Regions from separate parts of the Homo sapiens genome. Here region 1 is linked to region 2. The links are contacts of gene promoters, found by promoter capture Hi-C in human tissues and cell types (Jung and others, 2019). All regions are on one chromosome and are shown on one strand. The core of a region is centred on a gene start or on the middle of the fragment in contact, and the rest is flanking DNA. Distances in the headings are between cores, read along the strand shown.

Region 1 (3,962 bases), core at 1,090-3,589, 280 kb before region 2:
GTGGTTGTGTGTGCCTATAGTCCCAGCTACTCAGGAGGCTTGAACTCGGGAGGTAGAGGTTGCAGTGAGCCAACATCACGCCATTGCACTCTAGCCTGGGTGACAGAGTGAGACCCTGTCTCACGAAAAAGAAAAAAACAAAAACAAAAAACAAAAAATTATCACGAAGAGCTTACTGTTGATTTGGTATGAAATTTAATCTGGAAGATGGTTTTTTGTTGTTTTTTACATTTTTGGTAAACAGTGGCACTTATTTGAAACTCTAAAAGTTTACAAATAGCCATTTTATTTTTACTACATCATTACTCTCTTTGGTAACTCTGGTTCCCATAATGTTGGTAATTTAAGTACTTTTTAAGGTTATATTCTGGACTGACAAAAATAGGTAATCAGAGGTGTCTTTTTTTACAGAGGACTGCTCAATCACAGTGGAAATACCAGGGCTTTATTGAACTTGGACTTAGCATAATACCTGCATACTGTTGTTGTTTTTGGGTTTTTTTTTGTTTTTGTTTTTGTTTTTTTTTTTGAGACGGAGGCTCATACTGTCGCCTGTGCTGGAGTACAGTGGCACAATCCTGACTCACAACAACCTCCACCTCTCGGGTTCAAGTGATTCTCCTGCCTCAGCCTCCTGAGTACCTGGGCTTATAGGCGCCTGCCACCACGCCTGGCTAATTTTTTTGTAGTTTTTATTTGAGACGGGGTTTCACTATGTTGGCCAGGCTGGTCTCGAACTCCTGACCTTGTGATCCGCCTGTCTTGGCCTCCTAAAGTGCTGGGATTACAGACGTGAGCCACTGCGCCCAGCCTTAGCTGCATACTGTTTTTCAAGTATATGATGTGAGCATCAAATGAAATGTCCATGAGAACATTTCATAAATTTAAAAAAATACAAGGTTTTATTGTTTTGTAATTATACCTTAGAAACACTATAGTTCATCTCCACTGAAATCATACTTTCTTACTATTTGCAGAATTCTCTATCCTCAAAGTAAATAAATGGGTTTTTTTTTTGTTTTGATACGGAGTTTCGCTCTTGTTGCCCAGGCTGGAGTGCAGTGGCATGATCTCGACTCACTGCAACCTTCGCCTTTTGGGTTCAAGTGATTCTCCTGCGTCAGCCTCCCGAGTAGCTGAGATTACGGGCATGTACCACCACGCCCGGCTAATTTTGTATTTTTGGTAGAGACGGGGTTTCTCCATGTTGGTCAGGCTGGTCTCGAACTCCCAACCTCAGGTGATCCGCCCACCTCAGCCTCCCAAAGTGCTGGGATTACAGGCGTGAGCCACTGCGCCTTGCAATAAATGGTTTATATATCAAGGGTTTATGTAGAAATATGTCCGTTGATGAACACAATAAATGTTTGCTAAAAACTTGTGAGCTAATACTCAGTCATTTCCTTGGATTTGGTGAAAATCCTGCCTTTTTGCACATTCATAGCTTTTTATAAATCGTTCGTTAATGTAAATCAGGAGGTTTATGTTTTAAAATCGTTTTAAAATCCATTTTTGTATTCTCTTCAAGCAGCTGCAGCTACTGGAGGTTCTGTTCTCAATGTTGCTGCCCTGTTGGCATCAGGAACACAAGTAACACCTCAGATAGCCATGGCAGCTCAGATGGCAGCCCTGCAAGCTAAAGCTTTGGCAGAGACAGGAATAGCTGTTCCTAGCTACTATAACCCAGCCGCTGTTAATCCAATGAAATTTGCTGAACAAGAGAAAAAAAGGAAAATGCTTTGGCAGGGCAAGAAAGAAGGGGTAAGTTCTCTTATTCTGCTTTTCTGTCGTTTATTCCTAATTAGTAATTGCTTAGAAAAACAAATTTGGGTTGAAAAATATTACTTTCGGCTTAACTTTGTAAGAACCTGGGGTGGCCAGACGCGGGTGGCTTATGCCTTTAATCCCAGCACTTTGGGATGCCAAGTGAGCGGATCAGTTGAGGTAAGGAGTCCAAGACCAGCCTGGCCAACATGGCAAAACCCTGTCTCTACTGAAAAGAAGATAAAAATCAGCTGGGTGTGGTGGCACACACCTGTAATCCCAGGTGCTTGGGAGGCTGAGGCAGGAGAATCGCTTGAGCCTGGGATGCAGAGCCTACATACAGTGAGCCAAGATCATGCCACTTAGCCAGGCATGGTGGTGGGCACCTGTAATCCCAGCTACTTGGGAGGCTGAAACAGGAGAATCACTTGATCCTGGGAGGCGGAGGTTGCAGTGAGTTTCCAGCGAAACTCCATCTGGAAAAAAAAAAAAAAAATCACGCCACTGCACTTCAGCCTGGGTGAGACCCTGTCTCAAAAAACTTATAATAAGCTATGATAGTCTTATTTGCCAGTTATTAATACTAAAATAAAACATAATTGATTGAAGTCAAGCTTTCAAAGAAAACTAATATTACCATAGAAGTAGTAAGGAAAAGAGGCTACTTGGTTTAGAATTTTTCATAGATTATGAGGTACTTTTTTTTTTTTGACATTATTTGCAATGACAAATGACATTAAATGCAAATGACATGCAGTCGCAAAAATTGCATGTTGAAAAAGGTCTATGACAGGAAAATAATCCATTTTTTTATTTTATTTTTATTATTTTTGAGACAGAGTCTTGCTCTTGTCACCCAGGCTGGAATGCAGTGGTGTGATCTCAGCTCACTGCAACCTCTGCCTCCCAGGTTCAAGCAATTCTCCTGCCTCAGACTCCTGAGACCCTCCTGGGTCTACAGGTGCCCACCACCATGCCAGGCTAGTTTTTTGTATTTTTAGTAGAGACGGGGTTTCACCTAGTCATCCAGGCTAGTCTCGATCCCCTGACCTCAGGTGATTTGCCCACCTCGGCCTTCCAAAGTGCTGGGATTATAGGAGTGAAGCACGGCGCCAACCTCTTGCTTGTATTTCTTTGCTTTGTGGTTTCTTAAGTCTTGAAATAATTAAACTTACATTGATTGAATGCTATCCATGGTGTTTTTTTTTTTAATTTAGACATTGTTGAGAGATTTCATGTCCTAAAAAATATTTAAATTTTACATATTTTAAAGTTCAGTGTTTGTTAACAGGACAAATCCCAATCTGCTGAAATATGGGAAAAATTGAATTTTGGAAACAAGGACCAAAATGTCAAATTTAGGAAATTGATGGGTATTAAGGTGAGTTTCACATGTGCCAGGGGATCTTTGTATTAGCTATTAGCCCTCCTGCACTGTTCTTCCCTCATTTTCTTAGTTCTGGTCTTTACTCAGGTGTCAGCGTTTTTGAGTTCTTTCCCACCACCTTTTGTGAAATAACAAGCAATCCCATTCTGAAACATTTCCATCTCCCCTACCCACTGTCCTCCCTACACACACACTTGGAGAGAGAGAGAGAGACGGGGTTTTGCTCTGCTTGCTCTGTCACTTGGGCTGGAGTACAGTGGTGCAGTCATACCTCACTGCAGCCTTAAACTTCGAGGCTCAAGCAGTCCTTCCACCTCGGCCTCTCAAAGCCCTGGATCACAGTTCTGAGCCACTGCGCCCAGCCTCCATCCCCATTTTCTACTTTACTTTCCTCTGTGGCATTTATACCCTGACATCTTCTACATATTATGTTTTTTCCAACCTACTAAACTGAAGTTAACTTTTGTTACACCCTGCTATATTCCAGACCTAGAAAGAACATTGCCTTGTCCTTTGGAGGTGTTCAATAATGAATGGAAATTAAGTTATTGAGATCAAATACATATCCCAAAAGTATATTTTTGTTTGTTTGTTTTTTGTTTTTAGTATAGACGGGGTTTCACCATGTTGGCCAGGCTAGTCTCGAAATCCTGACCTCAGGTGATCCACCCGTCTCAGCCTCCCAAAGTGCTGGGATTACAGGCGTGAGCCACACTGCACCCGGCCAAAAGTATAATTTAATAGTGTCAGCCTAGTTCACACCTGTAATCCCAACACTTCGGGAGGCCGGGGGGCAGGCGGCAGGGGGGAT
Region 2 (3,670 bases), core at 575-3,074:
CATGTTTTTTAAGACAACAGCTTTTGCTTTAGTAGTTGGGCGGTCGCAAGTGAACACTGTCCAGTGGTTCTTCTGGTGCCCAGACTCGGAGGAGATGGGACTGCTCTCAATGTGTTTGTTAGAAACGAAACTGTTCGCACTATAACCCCATAACCCCTTACAATGTTCAGAAAAAAACAAGAAGGGGCTTGAAATACCCACTAGTGTGCCGCCTGCTCAGCCCATCTGGGTCTGTGAAACCACATCTGAGCCCTGTGGGCTGTGGTGGCGACACAGGCAGAGGGCGGGCAGGGTTGCCAGCGCCCCGCCTGGGCTAGGAACGCCTGTGCGCAGCTCCCTGAGAGCTCGGGGACCACGCGGAGGTTGTAATTGGTCTCTAGACCACACCTAGTTGTTGAGTGCCGCTGCTTGAAAATCTCAGTTCTGCCGAGATCGCAGAATACACACAAGCTACCTTTGGGCACCAGAGCAGACAGAACCGCGGAGCTTCAGGGTGGAAGATTCGTGGAAACTTTGCCAAGTAAGTGAGGTGGGGAGAGAAGGAAGCCAGTGCCTGACACTGTGGGGAGTGGCTGGGCAAAGCAGCATTGGAGGTGTTGTAGGGTTCCTACTGTCTGATGAGCTGGTGTGGGGTTCTTACTGTCTGATGTCGTCTCTGGTGGAAGTTAGCAGGGCTGGGGCAGATGCACAGAGCACGGTGGCGGGGGTGAGCCCAGGATCGGATTGATGCCCACCCACCACCTGGCACCCTGCAGTCCCAGCTGGCCAGAAGGCAAGCATGCTGGACCACAAAGCAAAGATCCTCCAGCTCTGCTGCTGGCAAGCCTTGGGGCCAGGGGACTCACAGAAGAGCAGGTTTGGGCCTGTGCCTTCCTCCTGCCCAAATGGGTCTCTCTCCCCTTCCCCTTCCAGCCAGGGCCGCAGCTGGGGCTGCAGCTTGAGTGACGGGAAAAGAAAGGTTTACTCCACCAGCGCATTAGCGGCACTCACAGCATTAAAAATGCAGGAGGTGGTGGGAGGAGCGGGCCAGGGAGGAAAACTCATGCAGCTGCGGGGCGCGGGGAAGAGCCGGGCTTCTGCCTCCTCAGCCCGGATCAGAGCCGAAGAACGAGGGCAGTTTGGGTTGAGAAGGATTCTCCAGTGTAACCGAGAAGCGAGCGTCCAGGAGGCTGTTGGGGAGGTCGGCACTGTGGGCTTCCTGGCCTTCGTTTGCTGTTTCGAGGGCCAGGACCTCGTGTGTTCCCGTCCGCCCCTCTGGGACGGCGCCAGCCCGGCAGGCCGCCGACCGTCCTGGGGCTCCCGCGCAGCGCGATGCCGGCCTCGTCCACCGTCCACGTGCTGCAGCTGCTGCGGGAGCTGCTCGCCTTCGTGCTCCTCAGCTACACGGTGCTCATCGGGGCGCTGCTGCTGGCCGGCTGGACCACTTACTTCCTGGTGCTGAAGTGACAGCGCCGTCGCCGCGCCCGGCCCCGCCTCCCGCCCGGCCCCGCCTCCCGCCCGGCCCCGCCTCCCTAACTCACCAGGAAATTCCCTTCAAGCCCTGGCCCGAACTGAGTCCCCGCCCACCCGCCAGCGTCACGGCGCCCGACTCAGCTCCGCGCCGGACCCACCTCCGCGCCCTCAGGCCCTGCATATGCCCCGCCCCGCGCGGAAGTTCCGGCGGTTGGTTGCCTTGCGCGGCCGTTACAGCCTTTGCCCTAAGCCTCGCCCCCTTTCCCCCTGCCTGCCCAATCCCGACTGCTTCCTTGGGTGGGGGCGTGGCTATGGGGCGAGGCGCTCTCAGGTGGAGGCCGTGCCCCGCTCCGCGCTCACGAAGCTGCGTCACTTCCGGCGTGTGCGTCTGGCGTCCGCGCGCTGCACAATGGCGGCTCTGAAGAGTTGGCTGTCGCGCAGCGTAACTTCATTCTTCAGGTACCGCTGCGGCCGCGTAGAGGGGACAGGACCAGAGGGAGGGACCGACGCGGACAGCGCTGTGGCCCGGCCCACGGCGCCCGCCTTCCTTACGCGCTCATCTCTCGTCCGCCCAGCTGGGTCGCGGCGTCTCGCTCCGGTCGGGAGGACTGAGGACAGCCCCGCCTCCGCCCCCTGGGTCAAGCCCGGCTTCCTTTTCAGTTCGTCCATCTTCTAGAAACGAGTCCCCGAGACCCCGGGCTGCCTTCTTGGGGCTGCTCCGCCTCCTGACCAGCCCTCGTCAGCCACTCGAAGTCCCTGAGGAGACGTGGAGAGGAGGAGGGACACGGCATGGGGGGAGTCCGGGAAGGGAGACGAGCGTCTGAAGACGTCCTCCCGAGGGCAGAAGGGGCCGGGGGAGCTGGCGCAGGGCTCTCTACCTAGCGCTGCAGGCTCCTGGGCGATTGTAGCGGGACCGTCACACACAACTGGCACCCAGGCCAGGGGTCCAGAGCTAAATTCTGCCTGCAGGAGCGGTTATTGTGGCATCCGTTTCTAAAAAGTTTAAAGGCAACATTTTATTTTATTTTAATTTTTTTGAGACAAGATCTGCCTCTGTCGCCCAGGCTGGAGTGCAGTGGCGAGATCTCAGCTCACTGCAACCTGTGCCTCCCGGCTTCAAGCGATTCTCAGCCTCAGCCTCCCGAGTAGCTGGGATTGCAGGCGCCCGCCACCACGCCCGGCTAATTTTTTTTTTTCTTTTTGTTTTGTTTGAGACTCAGTCTCGCTCTGTTGCCCAGGCTGAAGTGCAGTGGGGCGCTCTCGGCTCACTGCAACCTCTGCCTCCCAGGTTCAAGCGATTCTCCTGCCTCAGCCTCCCGAGTAGCTGGGATTACAGGAGCGTGCCACCACTCCGGGCTAATTTTTGTGTTTTAAGTAGAGATGGGGTTTCACCATGTTGGTCAGGCAGATTTCGAATTCCTGACCTCAAGTGATCCACCCGCCTCGGCCTTTATTTACTTATTTTTTTTTAATAGACACGGGGTCATGTTGCCAGCCATGTTGCCCAGGCTGGTCGTGAACTCCTGGGCTCAAGTGATCCTCCCGCCTTGCCCTTGGCCTTCCAAGTGCTAGGATTACAGGCGTGAGCCACCAACACCCTGCCTGAGGCAACATTTTAAACTTGGTGTATGTTGAAAATTTCAAAACCCCTCAGCTGTCCTGCATCCTCATTTAGGTTCCTGCTTGGCTCGAGTTTGAGTTTACAGCCCCTGCAAGTAAATCCAAGAGCCTGTTACAGATTGGCGGTCGTGCCTTATGAAATCTGACTTCTACTTCCAGGTACAGACAGTGTTTGTGTGTTCCTGTTGTGGCTAACTTTAAGAAGCGGTGTTTCTCAGAATTGATAAGACCATGGCACAAAACTGTGACGATTGGCTTTGGAGTAACCCTGTGTGCGGTTCCTATTGCACAGGTACTGTCGTGTGCAGTGATTCTTATCTAGTGTACCGTGTCCTCTTGAAGTCTCAAGTGGGCGGTGAAGCATTAGACAAGCTACCATAGTTTTTCCCAGTGCTCCCATCCCTTCCCCCACAGTACCGGCATCTTTTCACAGTTGAGCAGATATATTAATATTCTCATTTTGATTATCTCATTTGGTAGGAACAGCACATCAAATTGTATAAAGCGAGTAGAGAGAAATAAGAGGATATTACAGTCTATCAACAAAGTAGTCTTTGATTCAACAGAAATTTATTGAGCAACTTTTATGTGCAAGACA

What was found. Contacts are between HindIII fragments. The study calls those that stand out against the background at their distance.
Region 1: a contact is called between a fragment that was not itself captured here and the fragment with the promoter of DIABLO in region 2, in 6 of the 25 tissues and cell types used here (IMR-90 fibroblasts, adrenal gland, aorta and 3 more).

Annotation. Positions count from the first base shown.
Region 1 is chr12:122,506,017-122,509,978 of GRCh38, reverse strand. RSRC2 (arginine and serine rich coiled-coil 2) reads left to right here. Exons shown (of 10, transcript NM_023012.6): 8 at 1,532-1,761; 9 at 3,056-3,145. Among named protein-coding and RNA genes, the nearest start is that of ZCCHC8, 7.1 kb to the right of the region's middle. The HindIII fragment of the contact is 4,115 bases long and covers 282-3,962 here.
Region 2 is chr12:122,224,206-122,227,875 of GRCh38, reverse strand. DIABLO (diablo IAP-binding mitochondrial protein) reads left to right here and starts at 1,824. Exons shown (of 6, transcript NM_001371333.1): 1 at 1,824-1,911; 2 at 3,232-3,364. The coding sequence starts at 1,862. LOC128125816 reads left to right here and starts at 1,312. Exons shown (of 1, transcript NM_001414998.1): 1 at 1,312-1,446. The coding sequence starts at 1,312. The coding sequence ends at 1,446. It overlaps LOC101593348 (a long non-coding RNA gene), which reads right to left and starts at 1,434. Exons shown (of 1, transcript NR_103497.1): 1 at 1-1,434. RefSeq lists enhancers at 1-678, 679-1,510, 1,460-1,754, 1,808-2,047, 2,058-2,107 and 1 more and a silencer at 1,378-1,517. The HindIII fragment of the contact is 13,255 bases long and covers 1-3,670 here.